7 separate regions of the Homo sapiens genome follow, and all the other regions are linked to region 5. The links are contacts of gene promoters, found by promoter capture Hi-C in blood cells and fetal thymus (Javierre and others, 2016). All regions are on one chromosome and are shown on one strand. Each heading gives the region's core, a stretch centred on a gene start or on the middle of the fragment in contact. The rest is flanking DNA. Distances are from core to core; before and after follow the strand shown. Region 1 has its middle 14 kb from the start of CAST. Region 2 overlaps CAST (calpastatin). Region 3 overlaps CAST (calpastatin). Region 4 overlaps CAST (calpastatin). Region 5 holds the start of ELL2 (elongation factor for RNA polymerase II 2). Region 6 overlaps LOC101929710 (a long non-coding RNA gene). Region 7 overlaps CAST (calpastatin).

Region 1 (3,482 bases), core at 665-3,164, 690 kb before region 5:
GCAGCTCCCCAAAGCAGCTTGCTTCCAAGTGACCCACGCTTTCATTGTTGACATCATCATTTCAACCTGAGGCCTCTAACAGGGAAAAGGAAAATGCGTGAAGAGTCCTAATTATTCTTCTATGCTTCAAACTGGAAGTGACCCTCATCCCTCGTACTTCTAGTCCATTGGCTAGAACTAGTTCCAAGGCCCCAGTTTAATTACAAGGGAGTCCAGGAAATTAAAGGAAACACATGGGTATTTGATGAGCATTGTATGTGTCTACCACAGGCTGAAAGCTTGGCTGCAAAGGGCTGGTTCTGCCACTTCCTCACTGTGTAATTTATTCAATCTCTCTGACTCAGATTCTTCAACTGTAAAATAGAGATAGAATAATATCTAACTTATGAGGTTGCTATAAGGATTATGTGAGAATATCCAAGTAAAACTTTTAGAATAGTGTCTGTCAGAGAGAAAATTTTATGACTGTTAGCTATTGTGTTACCGTCATTACAGTATTACCTAACTCATTATATACACCAAGGATTGACTAATCTTTACTGCCTCTGTGACTTGAAGTTTAAATGCAACTCTAACAGGAACATGTTACATTTGAATGGTATTTTACAGTTTGAATGCCGACAATAAACCTGTGATGATGCAGGATGAACATAATTTTCATTTTATTATTTAGGAAACAGTTCAGAGACTGCTCAATTGGGTCAAAGTTACATCACTAGTTCTGGTGGAAAACTAGAATCCAGTTCTATGACTCTTTCAACAGACTTATCCACTAGCCCCAGAATGATTGATCAATGGGGAAACCAAGGTGGCAAAGGTGGCTTGATCCAAGGTGGCAGAGGGCCAGAGAGCAGATCAATGAAAGAGAGTTAGAAATCAGGCCCGTTGACTTCAAATATTTACGAGAAGATGACAAACAATGGATCCTGGGAGAGGTTACATTCCCAGGGCTGTCTCATTATTCGACTTATGTGAATAGCAAAATTCTTTCATGAGAGAAGAACTTTAACCCTGCTTATTAAAAGAAAACATCTGCAATGTCAGACAGATGCCAGGAACACATGTTTGTGTTGAGACTGTATAATGACAGAAACACAGTAATTTATTGTCCTTGTCAGAAACCAAGGGCTGCAATGGGAGTCTGAGGCTCACTGACATGAAAAAACTTTTTAAAAACAAATCTAACAGCAAAAGACTGAATCTTTTATTAATTTTAAATTCTTTTGGCAATTGTATAAGATTGAACAGCATGAAACTGCCATCTCTGTAGGTTAAAAACTTTGAATATAGGCAATTTTATATGGTTTGAGCTAACATTTTTAAAAAGACATGTCTTGCCCTATGAGTACCTCTATTCCTATTAATATAGCCATACATCGACAGAGCTACAGACTGTTTATGCAACAAAAACATGAATCCTGTATCCACCATGTGCCAGACAGTATTCCAGGCCCTGGGGGTAGATCTGTGAGCAAGATGAAGTCCTTGACCTATTAGCTGGAGTCAGGTGAATGGACCATCTTTACTGAGTAGGCGTCTCAGAGCTAGGGCTTCAGAATCAATTCAGCCTGGAATGAATTCCTGGCTCTGCCACTACCTAGCTGTGTGACTGTGAACGAGTGTCTTATTACACCACACACACACACACACACACACACACGCATATATATAAATAAAACTTCTCCCAGTTTCACAATGCAGAGGTACTAAGTACTCATAAATGTAGCAATTGTAACTATTACGTTTGTTATTACTTGCTGACTGAAAAAACTTTTCCTTCAAAGATGTTGCCACTTAAAGAAAAATAATACACAGATATATTAATTCAAGTGCTGAAACTTAAATATACAGATATATTAATTCAAGTGCTGAAACTTAAATATACAGATATATTAATTCAAGTGCTGAAACTTAAATATACAGATATATTAATTCAAGTGCTGAAACTTAAATATATAAACTTAAATATACCTAAATATTAAATATACAGAGAGAAATAAATAGTTTATGAGGAGAGGAGTGTAAACTTGGCAATATAAAGCATTCACAGTCTTGCTGAGTGACTCTATCCTGAAAGACTTAATCTAGAAAGACCAATAAGGAAGTGAATCTGCAGACAAGTTCTGAAAGTGGGTTTTGAAAGAGGGGAAGGCACACAGTTTAGCAAAAAGAGGGTGGTAAGTCATTCTAGGCAGAAGAAACAACTTGAGTAAAAACATCCAAAGCCTAGTGGAAAATATAACCTAAAGGATAGATGAGTTCACACAGAGAGAAGTGATATTGTAGTGTTTCTTCCTACAAATACTGGGGAAACACAACCTAAGTTGAAAAAGCAGTTACTCTTTCCAGACTAAATTACCAAAAGCAGAATTCAAATTCACAAGGGGCATTTCCTAGTATAGGAAAGAATTGGAGAAAGTCACAGCTCATTTTGAACTGGAGTCTTTTTCACTTTTGTCCAATTATTTCCCATCCAGAGTCCTTAGGCTGATATAACAAACAGCTTCAAACTAGGTGGCTTAGAACAACATAAATTTATTATCTCACAGCTCTGGAGGTTACGAATCCAAAATCAAGGTGCACGCAGGGCCATGCTCTTTCTGAAGGAGCTCGGGAAGGATCTGTCCTAGCTCCCTGCAGGCTTGTAGCAGTGTAATTCCACTCTCACACGGTGTTCTCCCGGTGTGTGCCTCAGTTTAGTTTATTTATTTATTTATTATGTATTTTTAACAAGGAAATCTGTCATATTGGATTACGTCCCACCTTAATGACCTCATTTTAACTTGATTACCTCTATAAAAACCCTATCTCCAAATAAGGTCGTATGGGGTTAGGACTTCAACATATTCATTTTGGGGGGACACATTTCAACTCATAACACTTAGAAAAAGGAAACTGATCTAATCATAAAAAGTGATACTGGCTAGAACAGCACAAGGTGGTATAATCGAAGGTTCATATAGGTAAAAATCCTATTAAATCTAAAACGGTTTTACAAAGCAAGGAAACTTCCTTGCAACAAGGCTATTTTTACCACAGAACTGTACTAGGTGTTAATTTGAATAACAAGTCATCCTCAGTGTATGATCTTGTACAACCAATGCCTTTGAAGTCTGGATTGGATGTAATTAACAAAAACGATATACCGAAACCTAAGGACTCCGGTTGAGACTGCAGGTGTGGAAAATGGAGCTGTGGGAGAGTTGGGGTTTTTGTTTCCTCCGATCCGTGTATGTCACTAAGCAGCAACAAATCACCCAACAAGCCAGTGCCCCTAACTCCATCACAAACATGCCAGCAGTTCCCAGCAGAAAAGTCAAGCCACTTATAGAAACAAAAATAATCCAAGCCTCAAAATGATTCAAGAAGATGGTGAAATGGGAGATGGTATATTCATTACAACTTTTCATTTGGTAGTCCGCAACAGAGAGGTTGGGCATCAGTAACAGTTTCACCTTCACCTCCTATCGTTTGGCTAAGTG
Region 2 (3,567 bases), core at 1-2,500, 740 kb before region 5:
TATGTATCAGAAAAACTATGCGATATGTTCTTATGAGGTTAGACACACCAATGCTAAAACAGATATCCCAGATTCGTATGATCTCCAAATTGAGGGAATTATAAGGTATAATGAAAGAGGAGATACAAAGATATATATGAACATAGAAGAATATGGGTTATGGAGTTTTTATTTGAATAGGACTAATTAAGACAGTTCATATTTTGAGAAAAAGTAAATGTTTCCACCTAAGAAGTAGTGATCACTTAAAGTTAACTGTGATTATAAACAATGAATAGAAACATAAATACTCAGCTGATTTTCAGAAGTTATTCAAATGAAAAGAAAATGCTTTCTTTTTCTTTCTGGTTTCATTCTTTCAAACTGTTACTTTACGTACTAGCTTTTATGTTTTCATTGCAGTACAGATGTTATACTTAGTCAATTCTGCCAGAGAATAATCAAGGAACCAAAACTCCCCACTAATTCTATATAATCAACTACTCTCTGGCATTCGGACTCTTCTTTCAAAGCATCTGAACTGAACCACAGCCAATATTTATACTTGAATGTGCTGCTTCATAAACACTGTTTCACAGTCTACAAAGCATGCTGATTCGTAATAGACACCAGGAGTCCTTGCTGCACACACACGGGATCCCTAGTCAGCCTCATTGCTATAGGTGGCTTATTCCTTCTCCATCAGTCTACAGGTGTGGCCTTTCCTTGTTCAGCAAGATTTTGCTAAATTTCACTACTTCATTTTAATCCTATACTGCCTCCTAGAACCCAAGCAGCACACCCTCCCCAGCATATTCCCAACAACTCAATATTCCTTTTAGATACTGAAAAATCAGTGCACAAAAGTCGAATACATTCATCAGAAAGAAGCAATCTATATTAATATAAACTCTAGTGCTGATTAGGAAATAGACTTTCCCCTTTTGAACAGTAGATGCCACTCCTTGTTGAGCTTCCCTGCAATGCAGAGGTTTTTCCTCTGAAAAACATGTGAAACAGCAGGAACTTTCCAGAGCTGCTGATTAAGCATTTCTGTCATTCTGATGCATAGGTGGTTTCCTAGAAAACTAGAGAGGCCCCAAAGTCCCGATCCTTAGGGAAGCTGTCTAAACTCTCTGCCTCATTTTCTGAAGCTGTACAATGGGAATAAAGAACTTCCCCCTGCCTGTGTGTAAGTGGAGAATGCCGGGTCCCTAACCATACAGAAGAGAAAGTTAAATCTCTGTGAAAACACTTTGTATTCTTAAAAGATAGACACAAAGTAACCCTCAGTGATGTTATTCTACAACCGTCTCAGGTTGTGTAAAGGAAATGGAACCGAAACAGGTTACAACACTTGCCACGCCACACCCAGCATGTATCAGGTACGCAGAAAGGTCAGAGTGAGCTCACGCTCTAAAACGGAGGTCATCACAGGGTGGCGGCACGGCTGGGGAGGAGGAGATCTATCTCCAACCCTAGAGATAAAGGTGCCAAACCAAACTGACATAGCTGCTGCTTTCCTTCTTTTGGGCCACTTGTCTCGGGCCACTTGTCTCGGGCCACTTGTACCGGGCCACACAAATCCCTTGTTTTGTAACCCTACGCGTCCGGTCACCAGATACATTTCCCGGCGGAAGGGGCAGTAACAGTGTTACCGACAAGGAGGAGGAGTCGCCAAGAAACACAGTTAAACTCAGAACGCACGGTATCGCCAGGGTCGCGATAGTAGGAAAAGCGCACGTCCCGAGCCTGGGGAGTCCGCTGCAGGGACCAGGCCCCGGACACGCAGGGCAGGTAGCCGGGGGCACAGGCCCTAGACCCGGGAGCACGCGCGGCCTGGAGCAAAGCGGCGGAAGACAGTACTCACTCTGCGTGGACACCGGACCCCGCAGTCCTCGGCTTGGTTTTCAGGAGGTCTGCATTCCTAGCTGGGCTCGGCTCCCGCGGTTTCCGCTTGGAGCTCCAGCCCAGCTCTCTGAGTGCGACGGGGCGGGGCGGTCCCGGGAAGGCGACGCAGGATGCTCCCCGCCCCCCTGCCCGGCGGCCCCGCCCCGGGAGCCCGGGATGCGTGGGGAGGGAGGTCCCGCTCCGTGGACTCGTCATGCGCCTGGCATCTGGAGACTGGCTCACTCAATAACGCAGCCTGTGATGCGGACCACGTGCTGTGTGGGCTGCGCACCGCCGGCTGATTACAGGTTACCGCTCCCTCGGCTGTCACCCTGTGACTACCAGAATAAGGCAACGACGGTGGGTGCACTTCGCAAATATGCTCCCCCGAAGACCTCTTTTGAAACTATAAAGTGGATTAGTAATGACTACAACCAGGGATTTGCAAATGCAGTTAAAACTGTGTAATGGATTTCTTTAAAGAGTAGTTTAACAGTAAGAATTCTACCCGATTACTTTATATTATAGTATATTACAAACTTCAAAATTAGAATAGATTTGAAGCTATTGAATACAATATAAATTCATGAGTCTATACTGCTGTAAATAAATGAATGAATAAATAGAGGGGTTAAGCCACTCTTTCATATAGAAGGCCAACTAATAAATATTGAATGATAAGAGTTAGAGAAAATAATTATAAAAAATTTTAAAATAAATGAAAAGCCGTACACCAACCACATTAAAGGCTCTGAACCCTGAACTTGGGGTGTGAGTGAAGGAGGTAGTGTTGGTCACTGTTTGAGGAACACAGACCTCAGGACAGGTTGGACAGTGCTGTGTCGAGTCATGACAAATGATGGCCAGTGGCATGAAAAAGGTGAACTCATCCATACAGCTTTGTACCCCACCAGGCAGCCAAGGCAGTTAGGGCCCTCTGATGTACCTTTCAAGGTACTCCTCACAGCTACCTTATTTTTTTTGTCTTTTATTTCTGTCAAAAATCTAGTGAAATAAGAGCCCTTCCAACTTTAAGATTCTAACATTTCCAGAGCAGAAGACCCTGTCCTTATAATTTTTTTTTTTTTTTGAGGTGGGATTCTCGCTATGTGGCCCAGGCTGGAGTGCAGTCACGTGATCTCAGCTCACTGCAACCTCCACCTCCCAGGTTCAAGCAATACTCCTGCCTCAGCTTCCCGAGTAGCTGCGATTACAGGCATGCACCACCACACCTAGCTAATTTTTGTATTTTTAGTAGAGACAGGGTTTCACCATGTTGGCCAGGCTGGTCTCGAACTCCTGACCTGAAGTGATCCACCCACCTCAGCCTCCCAAAGTGCTGGGATTACAGGCATGAGCCATGCACCCGGACTTAGAATTCTTCTTGATATATAGCTTATATATCCCTTTTTGTTGTTGTTGTTGATCATTAGTATTGTCATTCCTTTTTAAAAATAGACTAAAAGCTCATCTAGGTTTCACTGACATTAATTTCTCCTGTGACAAAAACAGCACAGGGTGACTAATTTGGGCCACACCCCATAGGGATGGGCCCTGGGCCCCACAGCTTCCAGAGTTAGGCAGCTCAATGATGCCTATCTCTGAATGTATTTCTGTGCTCCTGATGAGTACAGATGAGTAATCACATGGTTATAAAACAAATTTTCTGGCCAGGCATGGTGGCTCATGCCTGTAATC
Region 3 (3,430 bases), core at 861-3,360, 720 kb before region 5:
TTAAAGTGGAAAGCCATTTCATAGGTTTCACTCCAAGCAAACTAGAATAGAGGAGCTTGATTCAAGAAGCTGAACACTGTCATTATGAGCCAATTTCAAGAATTCCTGGTATAAAATATTGTCTCTAGAAGTTTCTATTTTTTCATTTTCTCATAGAAGAGAGCAGAACTTAACCAAACACTAAAGGAAGCCTACCAAATGCCAAAAATCTAGGCAGAATCTCCATCCTAATCGAAGCCAATGGAACTATATTGAAAAGCACAATTGGTGAACCACTTGTGTCATGCATCTGAAACAGAGCAAGCTTATGTCCCTGAAAGACCCCCTCTTTCCTGAATGCTCATACTCCACACAGAAATGTAGCCATCTAGAAAACCTAGCAGTCAAACCTCTTTGGTAGGAGTCCTCTTCATGAGGCAACCTATCTTTATTCCCCATTAGTGCCTCTCTTTCTAACCCAAGTCAAAGATTCCAAATCCAAATCCTGGAAACCAACTAAGCAGAAATCTGGTGCGTTCAGTGGAGTGGGCAGGGTGTGGGAGGATGGGTTGTGCGCAGGGTGTGGCAGTAGCATGCTGCACCTGGGGGAGTAGTTGTCCTAAGTACAAAGTGGCCTTCTTGGGGGTGGAGGTAAAAAAAGCCGCATTAGCAATCCTTGCTAAAAAATGGAGTTATTCCCTGCATCTCATTTCATACAGTGGATGTTCTGTAATGAATGAAAGTCCACTAGGTAGTGGGGATTTTACCAGCATTGTGCATATTCACCTGCCAAACAGCTGTAGGTCTGAGGAGATTTAGTTAGCAGGGACATAGATGAAGAGCAGGGCTAAGGACAATGTGCTCATCACAGCTGACAAGCTCTAGGAGTAGGCCAAGCTCTCCTTAAAAGAGTAATCAGAAAGAAATTTTGCCTCTCAAAACCACCACAGAGAAAGGCAGAGGGCATCATTACCCCGAAGACTGAAAAAGACAGATCTCATAAAATGATACAGAATAAGAAGAAAATTCAGACAAAAGTGTACATCCTTGATAGGAAACAAGATGGTATTACCTTCATGAAATGGAGTAAAGAGCTATAGATTGAGATGGAATGATAATGGAGTGAGACAAAGAGGTAAGAGAGGATAAGAAGGGGACACAAAGAAACCAAAAACGAAAACCAAAATTTAAACCTGTATTAGAAGTTTCAAAGAGCAGAATTTAGAAATAAAATATGTGGGGGGCAAACTTCAGAAACTCTCCTAGAGTGCAAGGGTAAATGTCAGCAAAAGAAAATTGTGAGGCAGATGATTAGTGAATGTCTAATGTCAGAATTACAGTAGTCTCTCTTATCTGCAGTGGATATATTCTAAGATTCCCCAGTGGGTGCCTGAAACTGCAAATAGTACTGAGCCCTGTATTCACTATGGTTTTTCCTATACATACATACCTATAATAAAGTTTAATTTCTAAAATAGGCACAGTAAGAGATTAACAACAATAACTAATAATAAAATATAACAATTATAGCAATATACTGTAATACAAGTTATGTGGATGGGGTCTCTCTCTCTCAAAATATCTCATTGTATTGTACCGTGGGTAACTGAAATCATGAAAAGCGAAACAGCTGATAAAGAGGAACTATTGCATATGTAGGTTTAGGAAGAAACAAGGGAAACCGAAACAAGAGTAATAATTAAAGAAATAATGAAATAACAGACATTCCAAGACAAATTAATAAAGAAAAACACATATTAATATATAAGTACATCCTGGTAGTATTTTTTTTTTTTTTTTTTTTTGAGACGGAGTCTCGCTCTGTCGCCCAGGCTGGAGTGCAGTGGCGGGATCTCGGCTCACTGCAAGCTCCGCCTCCCGGGTTCACGCCATTCTCCTGCCTCAGCCTCCCAAGTAGCTGGGACTACAGGCGCCCGCCACTACGCCCGGCTAATTTTTTGTATTTTTAGTAGAGACGGGGTTTCACCGTTTTAGCCGGGATGGTCTCGATCTCCTGACCTCGTGATCCGCCCGCCTCGGCCTCCCAAAGTGCTGGGATTACAGGCGTGAGCCACCGCGCCCGGCCCATCCTGGTAGTATTTTTAAATTGTAAGAACAAAAGAAAAAAATCTTGCACCAAGGCAAGAAAAATAGGCTTCCTAAAAAGTAAGTCAAAAGTAGGCTGCCTCAGACATCTCTGAAGCACAAAAAGCCAGAAAACCACGAAGCAATAGATACAGAATTTTGAGGAACAAAACTGTGACCCAAGGATGTTGTACAATTTTGTATTGATGGACTTTCTTGTGAGTCACCAACGAGAAAACATGCTTACATTCACACACTCAGAAAATCATCATTGTGCTCCCTCCCTGAAAAAAATATCTTAGAAAATACTCTGGTCAATGAAACAATAAATGAAAATTTCAAATGAAAAAATGGGGAAACCACAGTTGAAAAGAATCTTGTAACTTCCCAGAGTCACTTTAGCCTCCCAAGTCAGACTCAGCTCCCAAGTCGCACCCAGTGCGAGCCTGTGCTGGCCTCTTGGGGCTAGATATCCCGGTGAGCCAGGCATGACTGCCTCGGTGCAGCTTTTCGGCTTAGCTTTTCTTGGCACTGAGACATGAGCTTGTGCAGCCACAATCGACTCCCCACAACTAGTATGAACTCTCTTGTCATGACATAAAAGAATGTTAAAATGTTTGCTGCAGTACTCTTCTAGAACTTGCTAATGACAGCTAAATCACTTGTGGGAACACTGTCACAAATTACTTCTTGAATAAGAAGTAAATTTCTCCTCCCTTCAAAAACAGAGCACAAAATAATGAACATTAAATGCCATACTGAATGCCAAGGTGCTTGAATAATGGTTTTCTATATACTTAAATGCCACACACACTGATGGGTCTTTTTTTAATTGGAAAAGATTTATCTATCACAAAGCACATTATTTATCATTTTCAGACTAGGCCCTATAATGGTGTTCCTTTGCTATTTCTGCTTAAAAATCAAGATATGCAGCATTTCAGTAAACAAAATAAGCAAACAAAGAAAAAAGATGCAGGAAAATACACCAAGATGTACATAGTGCCCATTTCTCTAGGTGCTAGAATCCTAGATGAGGGTGTTTATTTTCCATTTTTCTTTTCTTCTTCTTCTTTTTTTTTTTTTTTTTTTTTTTTTGAGACAGAGTCTCGTTCTGTTGCCCAGGCTGGAGTGCAGTGGTGTGATCTTGGCTCCCTGCAACCTCCGCCTCCCAGGTTCAAGCAATTCTCCTGCCTCAGCCTCCCGAATAGCTGGGACTATAGGCGCCCACACCCACGACCACGCCTGGCCAATTTTTGTATTTTTAGTAGAGTTGGGGTTTCACCATATCGGCCAGGCTGGTCTTGAACTCCTGACCTTGTGATCCGCCCACCTCAGCCTCCCAAAGTGCTGGAATTATAGGCAT
Region 4 (3,329 bases), core at 830-3,329, 780 kb before region 5:
GGGTCACCTGTATTAAGACGGTCCTCCCCACTAATCTCAGGCTGTGGACAGTGAAAGTTACACATGCGGCCAGAGCTTTTATTTTCCTCTTTGATCTTTATAGTCTTGAAATGCCTGCTCTGGTTTGTATACAGTAGGCATCGAAAAAAAAGAGCCTACTGAATTGAAATGGCACTAGACTAGGCAGCCACACCTAAAAATGTGGGAGACTTATAATGGGCTATCATTAGAGAATAAAAAACTTTTATTTTATGTTATGGTAGATGATGGGAATACCAAGTAGGCATGGGTTTCCTCTCTGGAGTATTGTGTGGTTTTCCACAGATAGCTCTCTATTCTGGGGTATGCTGGGGTGGCAGTGGACACTCCTACAGGCTGACAGTGACCTTCCTGAGCCTTCTCATCACATCAGACTATCTAGGATGTAAAGGACCCACTAAGTCGGGTACTAAGAATTCAGGTTAATAATCTAGAGGACTGAAAGATCCTCTTTAGAAACATTCATACTTTGTATATGATTAAAAAGGAAAACTAGTGATATGCTTTGGCTGTGTCCCCACCCAAATCTCATCTTGAATTGTAGCTCCCATAATTCCCACGTGTCGTGGGAGGGACCCAGTGGGAGGTAATTGAATCATGGGGGCGGAGCTCTCCTGTACTGTTCTCATGATAGTGAATAATTCTCACTAGATCTGATGGTTTTATAAAGGGGAGTTCCCCTGCACATGCTCTTTTACTTTCCTCCATGTAAGACGTGACTTTGCTCCTCATTCACTTTCCACCGTAATTATGAGGCCTCCCTAGCCATGAGGAACTGTGAGTCAATTAAACTTCTTTCCTTTATACATTACCCAGTCTCTGGTATGTCTTTATTAGCAGCATGAGAACAGACTAATACAACTATTATGTCATAAGAGTGGAAAAGAGGAGTTCTTTTTGCTGGAATTTTAGTTTGCTGCGACTCTGAAGTTTTCTAGAGGGAACTTAATACATTCATATGCATTCCCAAACTAGTTACCCACATGTTTAAATAACTTATTTTATGTCACTTTTTTTCTTAACATCTGCTTATCTGCTTTTAGTCACTTTTAAGACTCCTTTGATCCTGAGGTTTATGACATGTTTATACCCTCCCTTCCCACATTAATTGTCTCTCCTTAAGTGTCTGTAAGAAGCTTGGGGCAGAAGTGCAATATACTTGTGGCCCTGTCGCCCTCAGGTGGTAAAGCCACAACTCAGCTTGGCCTCCTGACTCCCCCCAGGATTCTGCCAACACCCCGCTTTCCTCAAGATGACACTGCTTCTGTCGGCTACTCTAAGTAATGTATATCTCACATTGTGTTGTAATCAAGTTTCCCTTCTTCCCAATACATTACTTGGTCCTGGAAGATACGAACTGCTTCTCTTGCTCCTCTGCGTTCACCGTCACAAAGCTTATCGTGCCACACTGTGGCCGGTGAGCCCTCCAAGAAAGTCGAAGATAGAAACTGGCCCATCTTAGGCCAGGGCAGTCCCAGACTCAAGGATTGTTGCTGGAAGTCAGGGAGACTCCCCTTCCCTGATGACTCAGAACAGGAAGTGACAGCAGAGATGGGGCATTGTGACAGCAATGCCTGCCAGCACCCCCAGCCTGAGCTGATGGAGGTGGGGCGGGCTCCTGGGGATCCCAGGCTACCTTTCCATCTCCCCACAACACTGCCTTGTCAGGAACCGGCAACTCTCTCCTTTCCTTCCTCTTTCACCCCAGAGGACTGAGTTGAAAAATTCCACAAAAATTATAATTTAATATTAAAACTTTCGTACACCAGATGTAAGCTTGTTTTGGTTCAGAAGGCTTGTTAAGATCTTGGAGTGTGGCGGGATAAACACTCATCAGCATTATTCTATAAATATGCAGGAGCTCTAGTTAGGGTAATTGTTGCTTGATTTTAATTTGAGACAAAATTTTCAACATCTTTCCCCATAGTGATAAATGAAGGATCTTCCCACTCCGTGTATAGACATCTCCTTCTCTTATAAACAGAAGCACCCAGAACCCTTCTGAAAATACAAATTTCCAATTGCCAAACTTCACTATTTCCCACCAGGCATTGCCTCCTTGTTACCTTGTTTAGTCAAGGGTCATTTAAGCTCTAGCAAGGGAGATTCGTGTTCATTTCAAATGTTAAAATTCTAGCTGTTTCACAAGTCAGTCATGTAACTATCCCCCTTAGTTGCTAACCACTCAGCAATAAATAAGGCACAATGAAGAATGCTCACTTTTACTCTCCAATAAAAGTTGTGCGAGAATTCTAAACATGCAGAGTGCATTCGGTTTTGTAATGTGCAGACTAACAAGCTTTGTAAATCAACTCTAAGGTCAGTACCTCATCGACTTCCTTAATTGAGCGGAGGTCGAGCTCAGGTTCTGCTTGCCGGGTGCCCAGTGAAGCCGACAGAGCCTCGAGTGCTTGATCACTCATTGTATCCTGTTAAAAGTAAAAAATCCTGTGCATGAAAAAAGACATCTCTGGAGCCCGAACAATCCATTTACTTCTTTGTAAAATACATTTTAGATTATAAACTGAATATGGATTGGGGAAGTGCTCTAGAAAGGCAATTTTATTTGAAACCTTGCAAAAGAGAGAAAGGAAAAAGAACTTACCAATGAGTGGAAATTGGGGCTAAGACACGTTTCTACAGTAACAGCGTTCTCTGGGGCACACTTCACCCCTTATTTGGTAAGCTAGACATAAAGCTATAGTAATATTACTATAAAATACTCTAAACAAACAAAAAAAAAAGAAGCAAGTAGTAAACTGTTACCACACTATTTTTCTTTTTCTAAAAATGTATCTCTAAAAAGGCTTCTGACAACCTAAGCTTAGGAAGCAGGGAAGCTTGAAGTGGCCCCTGCTGCCTTCTTCTCTGAAGGCACAATGGCTGATCGTTGTAGGAACTCCCACTCTCAGGGGTGTGGTACTCACCACTGTTCCCCAGCCTGCCAGATAAAAATAAACTGTCCACTCCAGGAGGGGAGAGGCACAAGCTGCTCTGATAGAAACCGTTCCTGAGCATTATCTTGACTGTTTGCAGAGGAGACATGTGTTCCCAGCCAGCACAGAGCTGCAGGATTGCCTTTTGCGATTTGTGAGAATTATGTCATAGTGAAATATAGTTGAGAATGCTGGGCAGTACCAGCTACTTGGTGTCCCTCTAGTGATCCTCAGGGCTCAAAGTCCTTTATACAATCAAACTTGAAGGTTTTATGTTCCAAGAGTGCAATTTCTCTGGTTTCTGCCCTTCTGTGTATCATAATGGTGAGATGGTCTTAGATGATGACTGAGACA
Region 5 (3,538 bases), core at 813-3,312:
AATTCTGAGTAAGAGTAGGCCAAGTTAGGATATCATGTGGGTGGGGATTTACCCACATTCACCGGAAAAGCAGTGGGATACAGGTTTTACTTGTTCCGGTCAAACCTCCCTTCCCCCTCACCTCCCAAATAATTAAGGCTTTAGCTATGTGCTCAGTCCTTTACTATCAAAAAAAAAAAAAAAAAAAGAGAGAGAGAAAAGAAAAGTTCAAGTACAGAATTATTTTTAGATTATAGTCCGCTTAGAGATGAACTATTTGAATAAGGTTTCTACTTTTGGAAAGCGGAGAAAACTAGGTAGTAAAGCCTCTATTTCCCTTCTAAGAGTAAACTTTTTAATCCAATTTGATGATTACCTTAATATCTCTACTACATGAATTTAAGATAACACTGTATCACTAAAGTAAATGAAATTAGCAAGCGTTAATCACGTCTTAACAGCTAGCCAATCTTAGTGGATTGAAATTAAGTCAATTTACAAACTGTTTTCCTGTGATGGAGTAACACTTAATACAGGTGTTTCCACTTAATCCAATTCATTCTGTAATTCACATTATACACCTACTATGTTTGAAGGTCTGAATCAAAAAGGAGTGTACCCGTACGGTGGGGAAGGCATTTATTGGGAGGGGAGGACATGGAATCATGGCCCTAATCCATTTAAAATAATGAAAAATACTGATTAAATATCTATAAACTTTCCCGGGGAATCCCAGTAGAACAGAACATGGTTTTATAAGCTGAGGGTAAAAACAAGCGTCTCAGTTTTTTTATTAAAAGAACTTTTTTAAACTGCCTTTCAACAGTTTGAAAGCTTTCAATGGTTTGTTTTATCTGGTGTTTCTGATCAACCAATTAATCCATCCTCTGACAGGAACCCATCTGTCAGTCTATCCACACACAATCTGAAAGGGACTCCAGATTAGGCTCCCTCTTTTAGCCACGCCTACACAGGAAGCATCCTGTGGATGGAATGGAAAGTATGCCAGGCCTTTGCACGCCCCTCACGCCCCCATCTCCTTCGCTTAACCTCGACAGCCTCTTACCTTTAAACCCTAGCTAGGTTTTCACACAGCCCTATCAAATAAAAAGGACAATACTCAAACTGAATTAGAGAATGAGAATTGTCGAGGTTTCTTTTAATTTAGATCAATGCCAGTTTTACTCTTCTTCTAGAGTCCTTTTTAAGGAGATATCATCCCCACCAGTTGTGATCCCAGAGAATCACAACAGGGCATGGCGTAGGAAAGACCTCGAAGCTCAATTCTCTATTATACCATGCCCACCATACGAAAGGCATTTAACCTCCCGCGTGATTTTGTCCTTAAGATGCTCCACAAGATCTAACACAACTCCTACATCTAAGAGTCGACTCACTAATTTCAAGGGTTTTTGTTTTTGTTTTTGTTTTTATAAGCTCTGCGTGTGGCACCCGATAACTTCAAGTTTAGAGTGAGCAGTTTCCTCCCAATGCCGTTTGCTCAACTACAGTACTAGGAGTTTTGAGGAGCAGCTCTCTAGCGAGTCCTCCTGCTGCGTCCTCCCCCACACGCACGCACCAAGTTCCACAGCTTCCGCAGCCGTCGGGGAACAAAGTCCTTATTTGGTCACGGCCATCCCCTTACATAGTGGAGGTGGAGATCCTCCTCTCCAAGGACCACCCGCGTAGGGCGAGATTCCCCAATTCTGACTTTTCACTACTATCCCCCACAGGGGCGGGGCTCCAACTCCAGGTAACCAGACCAGGCAACCTGGACTTCCAATTAGCAGGGGAGTCCCCAAGCCAGCCTGGCCAATCTCGGCCGGCTAGCCAAGACGACCAGACGTGACGTCAGACATGATTAAGTTGGCGCGTCACCTAGACGTCAGCCTCTTACCTCTCGGACGTCCCGTCCCAGGAGCAAAACTCTAGTGACTTTGGGCCCGCCCCCGTGAGAGTGGAGGGCGGCCGATGAGGGCGGTTCTGAAGGGAACAAGACCAATGAGACGAGCCCGGGGCGGGGCGCGGGGCCGGAGGGTGGGGCGGGTGGCGGCGGTGGCAGTCCGAGGTCTGGCTCCGCGCAGTATATGACAGTACGTCAGCAGCGGGATGGCCCTAGCAGTGGCGGCGGCTGCAGAAGCCCAAGCAGCCGCGGCCGCAGTGGAGGCTAGAGCCGGAGCGGCGGCGGCGGCGGCACCCCGGGGAGTTTAAGATGGCGGCGGGGGGGACAGGGGGCCTGCGGGAGGAGCAGCGCTATGGGCTGTCGTGCGGACGGCTGGGGCAGGACAACATCACCGTACTGCATGTGAAGCTCACCGAGACGGCGATCCGGGCGCTCGAGACTTACCAGAGCCACAAGGTGAGCGGGCCGGCCGGCAGGCTGGGCTCAGAGAGGCAGAGCGCACCCCTCACGGCCTGGCCGCGCCCGGGTGCGGGGCCGGCGGAGCCGTGGCTGGCAGCTGCTACCGTCAGCGCCCGCAGCGGCCAGGCAGGGCAGGGCCGGGCAGGGTGGCTGACGCCGCGGTCCCGGGCTAGCCTGGGCGTTGGGGAAGCGGGCAGTCGGGCGGCCCCTGGCGGCGGGGCCGAGGCAGCCGCAGCCCTGGGTCGGCTGCGCTGCCGCTGCGGGACTTTCCGACGGCCCCCGAGGATTTCCTGGCTTGTTGGGTCCCAAGGAGGGAGAGAGGCCCCGATAAGAGAAGTGAGATGACCACGCTACCCTCGGCGGGGAAGGAGGGTAGCGAGCAGCGTATGGGCAAGGAACCAGGGACGACTCGCGGGCACCAGCTGCCCGCGTTTTCCAGTTACATAGGCACGGTGGATCCTCAGAGACAGGACACAGGCGCTCCGCGTGTGGGGGTGGGACCTTGTATTCCCAGGGACTTGGGGACACAGGCGCTCCACGTATCAGGGGACACACTGTGTGCTCGAAGGGATGGGGACTCGGGCGCATGGTGAGGGGCACACGGTGTACTCATAGAGATAGGGACTTAGGCAGTCCGTGTAAGGGGGCGGCGCACACTGGAACGGCGGGGACACTGGCGCTTCGCGTACGGGGGGGGAGGGGACACACCTGCATTCCCAGGGACTCCGGGACACCGGCGCATCGCGTTACTGGAGACGCGCCGCGTCCAGGACGGACACAAACCAACACAGTGCCCTGGGGAGAGACCTGAGGACTCACGCACACTTAGCGCTCCCCGGGAGCAAGACATCGGGTTCTGGAGAGAGAGGTTCACGGACGCTCAACGTACCCGAAAAAGCTCCCGGCGTCTTGGGCTGACTCTGGGAAGTGTAAACGGGGAACGAGCCAGAGCCAGAAGGTGTGGGGAGGATACAATGCATCCCGGGCAGAGACTCGGGCCTCTCACCCCTCGTTTTCGAGAGAAGCCCATGGACACACACACACACATATACACACACACCCCTCCAGTACAGAGAGAGGCTCAGATAGGCGCACATACACTGTAATTGGACTACAAATCCAGACGCTTTCATGTTGGAAAAAAAATGGGAGAGACAGGGAAGCACCGAGAAGGGACGCGGTAACCAGGGTGCATGG
Region 6 (3,430 bases), core at 592-3,091, 650 kb before region 5:
AATAAACTCTAATATATATTTACCCTATTAGTTCTGGTTGTCAAGAGAACCCTAATACCAGAACATTTACACTTGCCCTAGTATAAGTCACTGAGTCTCAGTGGCATGGACCTGTTCTCGGGACCCCTCTTTCCCAGCAAATGCTTGAAGCAAGAACCATTAAATAATAGGACGGCTGATAATCTCCTGATTCCCTACTCACTACCATACACCTCCACCTGACCCCTCTTAGGCTCCCTGGCCTCCTTCCCTGGGGCCTGGCGTGGTGGAGCAGGTTGAATTCTCCCTCAATGTGCGTCTCAGCCAAGGACAGCCCACAGAATCCTTGTCTGTTTCATTCTCCCTGTTGCCATTGGCACATTAGCAAAGCAATCTGATAGACTGGACTATGTGAACACACTCTGGGAGACAGCCCTGTGCAGCAGCACAGACAGTGCTGACTGAGTCAATGGGAGAGATGGTTATGGCAGAGTAAGGGGAGAGGAGGAAGTGAGACCTGCCTAGGGACTGCCAAATGCCATCCTGTACAGCTGCTCTTTGGCTTACGATGGGATAAACTTACTGGAAATAGAAAATATTGTAAGTCAAAAATGCACTTAATACACCAAAGCTGCTGAACATCATAGTTTAGCCTAGCTTACCTTAAATATGCTCCAACAATTACAATAGCCTGTGGTTGGGCAAATCATCTAACACAAAGCCTGTTTTATAATAAAGTGCTGAATATCTCATGTAATGTATTGAATATTGTACTGAAATTGAAAAACAGAATTGAATTGCTGTATGGGTACTCCAAGTACAGCTTCTACTGAATGCATATGATTTCTGCACCATCGTAAAGTTCAAAAATCTTAAGTTGAACTATTGAAATTTGGGGGCTGCCTATACTAGGCTAAAGCCTACTCACAGCTCACTCAAGGCAGCGCTGAGGGCCTCCCCAGTGCCCAAATTATTGCTTTTAAGTAACTAAAAGGCAAGAGAATATAATGAACTCATTAGCCTTCTTAGTGACAGGTGCCTCATTTTACCAAGCTTAGGGTGGGAGCAGTACAAGATGATGGATCCTTTTCATAATTCAACTATATATATATATTCAGTTTTTAAAAAGAAAAAAAGCACTGAGGAAGAGGGGTAATCTGGCACCCCTGGGGAGAGGCTGGGCCTAGGCTTTGGATGGAGGTGGGTCCCTGGCATTATTCTTGGATTTCCTCTGAATCTTTGGACTCTGTTTCAGGTTTATCTGCCTGAATAGCTTCCCGTTCCCCACAGTGAATGAATCATTTCCTCTTCTAATCCCCTGCCAAACATTTCAAATCATGTTTCCTTTTCTTGGTTAAGTACCTAAATTGAACTCACTGTGATGAAAAAGCAACCCATGGAAAACAGTTTTCATTCTCATTTATAAGCCTCCTGCCATAAGGTTTTTGGGAGAAGCTCGTGGGCATGTCCCGGCTGGATGCTTTTGCTGAAAATCCCTTGTCAACACTGAGGCGCTGTAGTAGGTAAGATTGCACACAGCATCAGGAGTGAAAGGCCCTGATTCTGATTCACTTCACCGCAATAACCTAACGAGTCAGGCATTTGCCAACAGCTAACACTCCATCCAGAGGGAAATGGAATCATTTGAGACAAAATGATGAGCTTCTGCTGCCATCTGGTGGAGTTCTCACCTTTAATCATGTTAATTAAAGGGTTCCTCACCAGAAAATGCTGTAGAGTTAGTGGTGGTTCTGGAAGGGGTTCCTTGGACCGGCAGCATTTGTATTACCTGGTCACTTACTGCTGATGATATATTGTTAGTTACTTTATACCTTAGATTCCTTCATTACAAAATAGACATAAAACATCTAACTCATAGGGCTGTGAGGATACCCAGCCTCACAATGCAGATAAATGAACAACAATTTAAAAAACAGTATAAGGCACCCAGTATTAAATCTAACAAAAGATGTGCAATTATTTTAAAAAGTATAAAATTTCATTGAAAGACATTTGGGAATACCTAAATATTTGCAGGCTCCACCCCAGACCTACAGGATTAAGATGTACATTGTAATAGAAGTCCCAGGTTATTTGTATAGAGAATAAAGTTTGAGGTACTTAACGTTTTCTCCAGGGAGATAGGTAGTTACTATTGTTGTTGTTGTTTTGTGCCTTTGAATACCCTTAAGTTGTTTCATTTAAAAATGCTTTAAAGACAATCATCAGAAGACAGAGTATGGATTGGAGGTTAAGAACACAGAATTTGGGGTCAGATAGAACTTGTTTTGCATCCCGTCCCCATCACTGACTACTGATAACATGGTGAGTTACTTAATCTTTCTGGACCTTAGTTTCCTTAGCTAGAAAATGAACGTGAAAATATCTAACTCATAGGGTTGTGAAGACTTAAACAGAAAATACAGATAGCACAAATAGTAGTATTACAAAATCTGAAGTACCTAGTATTAAATCTAACAAAGGATGTGCAAATATGAAAAAAGTATGAAATTTCATTGAAAGACCTTCGAGAATACTTAAATGAAAGGAGAGATGAAACCATGTTCAAGGATAAGAAGAAAACTGTCATTCATCTTCAAATCCATCTATTCTAATGCAATTCAAATTATAACCTCAACTGGATTTTTATTGCTGAACTTGACAAGCTTATTTCAAAATTTGAATGGAAGAAAACAGCTAGGAATAGAAAATTCTGAAAGAGAAGAAGATGGAGAGGGTCACTCTACCAGATATCAAGACTTATTATAAAACTATAGTAGTTCAGGCAGTGTGCTATTGGCACAGTGATGGATGACTTGCCAGTGGAACAGAATAGAGAGTTCAGAAAGAGACTCATACATATTTGGAAATTGGATACATGAAGCAGTGGCATTACAAATCAATAGAACATGCATGGGCTAACTGATAAACATTAATTGGTTACCCACAGAGAAAAATTACATGTACTGTGTATTTACACATGTATATATGTGTGTATGTATGTATATATGTGTGTATATTTATTTAGACTTCTTGTTTATATCATACACAAAGATAAATTGTTACCCCGTTGATAAGAGATCTAAACATCTAAAGCAAAACTAAAATAAGTTTGAGGAAAATGCAGAAGAATTTTTGCATAATCTCAGTGTAAGAAAGAGCATATTAACAAAATCCAGTAAACCAAAATTATAAAGTAAAAGATTTGATATATTTGATTAGATTAAAACGTATTTATTTCTTTAAACCGGTACAAGTGCAGATTTCTCTGTTTTTGTTTTATTTTCTTCAAATTTTAGATTCAGCGGGTATGTATGCAGGTTTGTTACGTGGATATATTGTGAAATGCTGAGGTTTGGGCTTCTATTGAACCCAACACCCAGAGAGTGAACATAGTACCCAGTAAGTAGTTTTTCAACTCTTGCTCTCTTTCCTCCCTCCCTGTTTTGGA
Region 7 (3,172 bases), core at 500-2,999, 760 kb before region 5:
ACAAAAATCTAGTAGGAGGTGGTGTCCAGTAGTGAAAGCCTTTGTAACCAGATCAAATAGGTTCAAAATTTGGGTCTGCTATTTACTAAACAATCTCGGGTAAGATACTTAAATTTTATAATCTCCAGTTTCCCAACCTCAATTTTTCTTTAGTAGTTAACAACTACCTTGTAAGTTTATTATTAGAATTACTCCCTGGCACATAATGAATGCTCAGTAAATATTATTATAATTACTGTTTATGTTATTTTCAGAAAAAACATGGATTTTGCAACTCAACAAAATTTTGTTCAAGCCCCAGCTCTGTCAGTTACAAGCTCTGTGACTTTGAGCTTTGTCTTCCAGGTCCATTTACATACAAAGTACAGTAACATCTATTTGCAGGGTCGTATTTGAGATAGTGTGGCAAAATGTCTGGCAAATTGCAGATGCTCATTAAATTGCCAGTGTGTTATTCCTAATACATAAGATAGAAGGACAAAACTCCCGTAAATAGACTTGGGTGGATGTGAACTGTCCGTTCAGTGTCATGTAAGAAAGAGAAGGTGGAGACAAGGTTACAGAGGGAATTCTACTGCATTATGTCTCATCTAGGCTCTTCCTTAGAAGGCAAGAGGTGATAAATAGTAACTATTCAAGGAACACCCTTCCTTGAGATGCTTGCAGTGGTGCAATCAGCCCCTGTGATCCAGTCATCTAAGTACTGGGATGTGTGTGTGGATACTTGTATGGTTTGGAGTACTATTCTAGTACTTAACTTGTATTACACTGGTTAATATTAAACAGATAATTATAATCTTTGCAAACTCCTACCCAGACTCATTTAAACCTCCTTAACACTTAAAGTCCATTAGGTTTTAGAACCCAGGGATTCCATCTGGCATGAGCTGCCTTCTTAAGTAACTGACTGTCAGTAAACAGCTGCTACCCTGCCAACAACACCCAGGGAAGGAAGCCTGTAAGATGGACCTCACTGTGTCCCTAATGCCTGGTCCAGAGCCACTTCAGAGGCTGAGTCACAGGGCAGCATGAGCCCATTCCTGCTTCTCCCTTACCTTCCCCCACCCCCAATACACTACCACTCAAGGTGATTGTATGAAACCCACTATAGTCTATGGCCCATGAACAAAATCACCTTCCCCACAAACCTCAGTTAATGCAGAACACATTGATGCTTGTAGTTAAACTATCATAATTTACAGACAGAAATCCAAAGCTTTAGTATACTTATTTTTCAAAAATAATCATATAAACATAACTATTCCTGAGAACCCTTAGGCACCAACTGGACACTCCCTTCCACCAAAATACACACACACGCACACATACAAGAAGCCCCAGTCACTGTAGCAGGGCATGGAAGGGCCTCTCTCATATTCTTTTTGGTACTGAAAACTGTAAGATGTACCAAGACAGATTTTCCCTCTATCAAATTAATGGATAAATATATGAATATCCATATTTTTCCTTGAAAATATTTTAAAACATTATGGTGCTTAATGTCCCTGTATTTATGTAATTCTATCCTTCCATAATTGGAATTGATTATACAGATTTCCATTCAAACTCAAGAAATTCCACTTAGCTGCATTCCATTCCTTTAATGATTCCCCTCAACCATGCAACACCAACACAGAAACCAAACACTCTATGTGAAAGTGCTTCTGAAGCTGAAAATCTTTAGGTAGACATATTTTCCACACATCCAAATGTATTAAATCATCCATAAAATCACATTGCCTTGAATTGTCCAGCCTGCCTTGTTACTTTATTAAACAATACCTTGAAGTGATCCTCAAATTCCAGAAAGGAGAAAACTTTCAGAGGGCCCCCATGAACAGTAAAATCTCTATACAGAACAGCTGAAAATCAGCAATGGCGCAGGGTGTAGTGGGAATTTAGCTGAGGGCCTTGGCCCCTGTTGGCAGCACAGATTACTGCATGAAAGTTTTCTTCCCTCACTAAGGCACTAACCATTTTAAAACTGAAATATGAAAGCTGCTTCATGGGAGCTGGAAGTAGGGAATATGCCCACCCCATTATTAATCCATTCGATTCTGGCTACAGCTTGTTCAATTTTTATTCTCTCTGTAAAGACAAGCAACTTTCAATATTTGTAATCTCTGGTGAATGAATGAATACACTTTCATTGTATACTCTTTTGCATTGTTTGAATTTCGTATCATTGATGTGGATAACATTTATAATAAAAAATTGTGAAGGGTTAATCCATAGATCTTCAAAGAGAAAGCACCTTAGTGATAAAGTTTAATACAAGCTTTAATATACAGGCTTTAAACAGGTGAGAAAAATGGAATCTCATGTCCAAGATTTTACCAGAGTTCATTGGCTCCCCCAGGTGTTTATCCAGAATATGCTCTGTGCCAGGTACTGTGTCAGGTGCTGGGGACACAGAGGTAAAACCAGTAGGCATGTCCCTGCCCGTATGAAAGCTATAGCCTAGTCAAAGATGGCATTAGTAGAAATAATCACTCCCAACAATTATTTGCTACAAAGGAAACTCACAGGGTTCCATGAGAATGTAGATGAGGGAACCATAGCAGTTCAGGGGATAGTTGAGACAGGCAGTTCTGATAATGTGACCTGTCATGCGGTGATTGGAGGATAAGGAGGGATCGCTCAGGCTGGAAAGGAGCACTCTCTGCACGAGGACCCTCCGAGCTGTGTACGCCAGGCCTGGGAGCTTGGCCATCTGACTTCTAACCCAGGTCCCTCTACTGCAGTGCCTGCCACTTGGCTGGTCCTGCTAACATCAACGGGCTGCCAATTTTAAAGCACAACCATCAGTGCTCATATACACCAAAATACCTCTAAAGAATTAATACTGTAAATCAGAGTATAAAGTGCTGCTATCAAAATACTACCCCTCCCAAATGACCCATGTACCTATCTTAATATCCCAAATATTAGTAATCATTTATAAACTTGAATTAAGGCACAAGTCAGAGTAACAAGAAGCAGAGAAAAGTTCCTTAATAGAAATTACTCTCCACTCACCCGCCTATTCAACAATTATTATTTAAAAAGCAATGTACAGATGGGTGCAATGGCTCACACCTGAAATCCCAGCACCTCGGGAGGCCGAGATGGGAGGACAGCTTGAGTCCAGAAGTTGGAGACCAGCCTGGGCAATGTAGTGAGACCTTGTCTC

What was found. Contacts are between HindIII fragments. The CHiCAGO score rates a contact against its expected background, and 5 or more counts as called.
Region 1: a contact is called between a fragment that was not itself captured here and the fragment with the promoter of ELL2 in region 5, in 2 of 17 cell types (M0 macrophages and M1 macrophages). The highest score is 6.8, in M0 macrophages.
Region 2: a fragment that was not itself captured here is called in contact with the fragment with the promoter of ELL2 in region 5 in 1 of 17 cell types (erythroblasts); the score reaches 7.1 in erythroblasts.
Region 3: a contact is called between a fragment that was not itself captured here and the fragment with the promoter of ELL2 in region 5, in 2 of 17 cell types (M1 macrophages and M2 macrophages). The highest score is 5.0, in M1 macrophages.
Region 4: a contact is called between a fragment that was not itself captured here and the fragment with the promoter of ELL2 in region 5, in 1 of 17 cell types (erythroblasts). The highest score is 5.9, in erythroblasts.
Region 6: a contact is called between a fragment that was not itself captured here and the fragment with the promoter of ELL2 in region 5, in 5 of 17 cell types (total CD8 T cells, M1 macrophages, M2 macrophages and 2 more). The highest score is 6.3, in total CD8 T cells.
Region 7: a fragment that was not itself captured here is called in contact with the fragment with the promoter of ELL2 in region 5 in 1 of 17 cell types (naive CD8 T cells); the score reaches 5.1 in naive CD8 T cells.

Annotation. Positions count from the first base shown.
Region 1 is chr5:96,646,896-96,650,377 of GRCh38, reverse strand. It overlaps a transcript of CAST not described here. Among named protein-coding and RNA genes, the nearest start is that of CAST, 14 kb to the left of the region's middle. RefSeq lists an enhancer at 2,216-2,285. The HindIII fragment of the contact is 3,268 bases long and covers 281-3,482 here.
Region 2 is chr5:96,701,198-96,704,764 of GRCh38, reverse strand. The region is part of intron 3 of CAST (calpastatin); the gene reads right to left. Among named protein-coding and RNA genes, the nearest start is that of CAST, 41 kb to the right of the region's middle. RefSeq lists an enhancer at 1,221-1,720 and a silencer at 1,960-2,089. The HindIII fragment of the contact is 5,929 bases long and covers 1-3,567 here.
Region 3 is chr5:96,680,087-96,683,516 of GRCh38, reverse strand. All of the region lies in intron 2 of CAST (calpastatin), which reads right to left. Among named protein-coding and RNA genes, the nearest start is that of CAST, 19 kb to the right of the region's middle. The HindIII fragment of the contact is 3,608 bases long and covers 307-3,430 here.
Region 4 is chr5:96,741,794-96,745,122 of GRCh38, reverse strand. It overlaps CAST (calpastatin), which reads right to left. Exons shown (of 32, transcript NM_001750.7): 16 at 2,367-2,468. Among named protein-coding and RNA genes, the nearest start is that of ERAP1, 64 kb to the left of the region's middle. The HindIII fragment of the contact is 523 bases long and covers 1,818-2,340 here.
Region 5 is chr5:95,960,375-95,963,912 of GRCh38, reverse strand. ELL2 (elongation factor for RNA polymerase II 2) reads left to right here and starts at 2,062. Exons shown (of 12, transcript NM_012081.6): 1 at 2,062-2,338. The coding sequence starts at 2,192. LOC101929710 (a long non-coding RNA gene) reads right to left here and starts at 1,912. Exons shown (of 5, transcript NR_130776.1): 1 at 1,877-1,912. It also overlaps a transcript of CAST not described here. RefSeq lists silencers at 1,506-1,973, 1,929-2,168, 2,239-2,648 and an enhancer at 1,453-2,210. The HindIII fragment of the contact is 3,633 bases long and covers 816-3,538 here.
Region 6 is chr5:96,612,422-96,615,851 of GRCh38, reverse strand. All of the region lies in intron 4 of LOC101929710 (a long non-coding RNA gene), which reads right to left. It also overlaps a transcript of CAST not described here. Among named protein-coding and RNA genes, the nearest start is that of CAST, 48 kb to the left of the region's middle. The HindIII fragment of the contact is 1,613 bases long and covers 1,035-2,647 here.
Region 7 is chr5:96,719,345-96,722,516 of GRCh38, reverse strand. The region is part of intron 3 of CAST (calpastatin); the gene reads right to left. Among named protein-coding and RNA genes, the nearest start is that of CAST, 59 kb to the right of the region's middle. The HindIII fragment of the contact is 1,062 bases long and covers 1,219-2,280 here.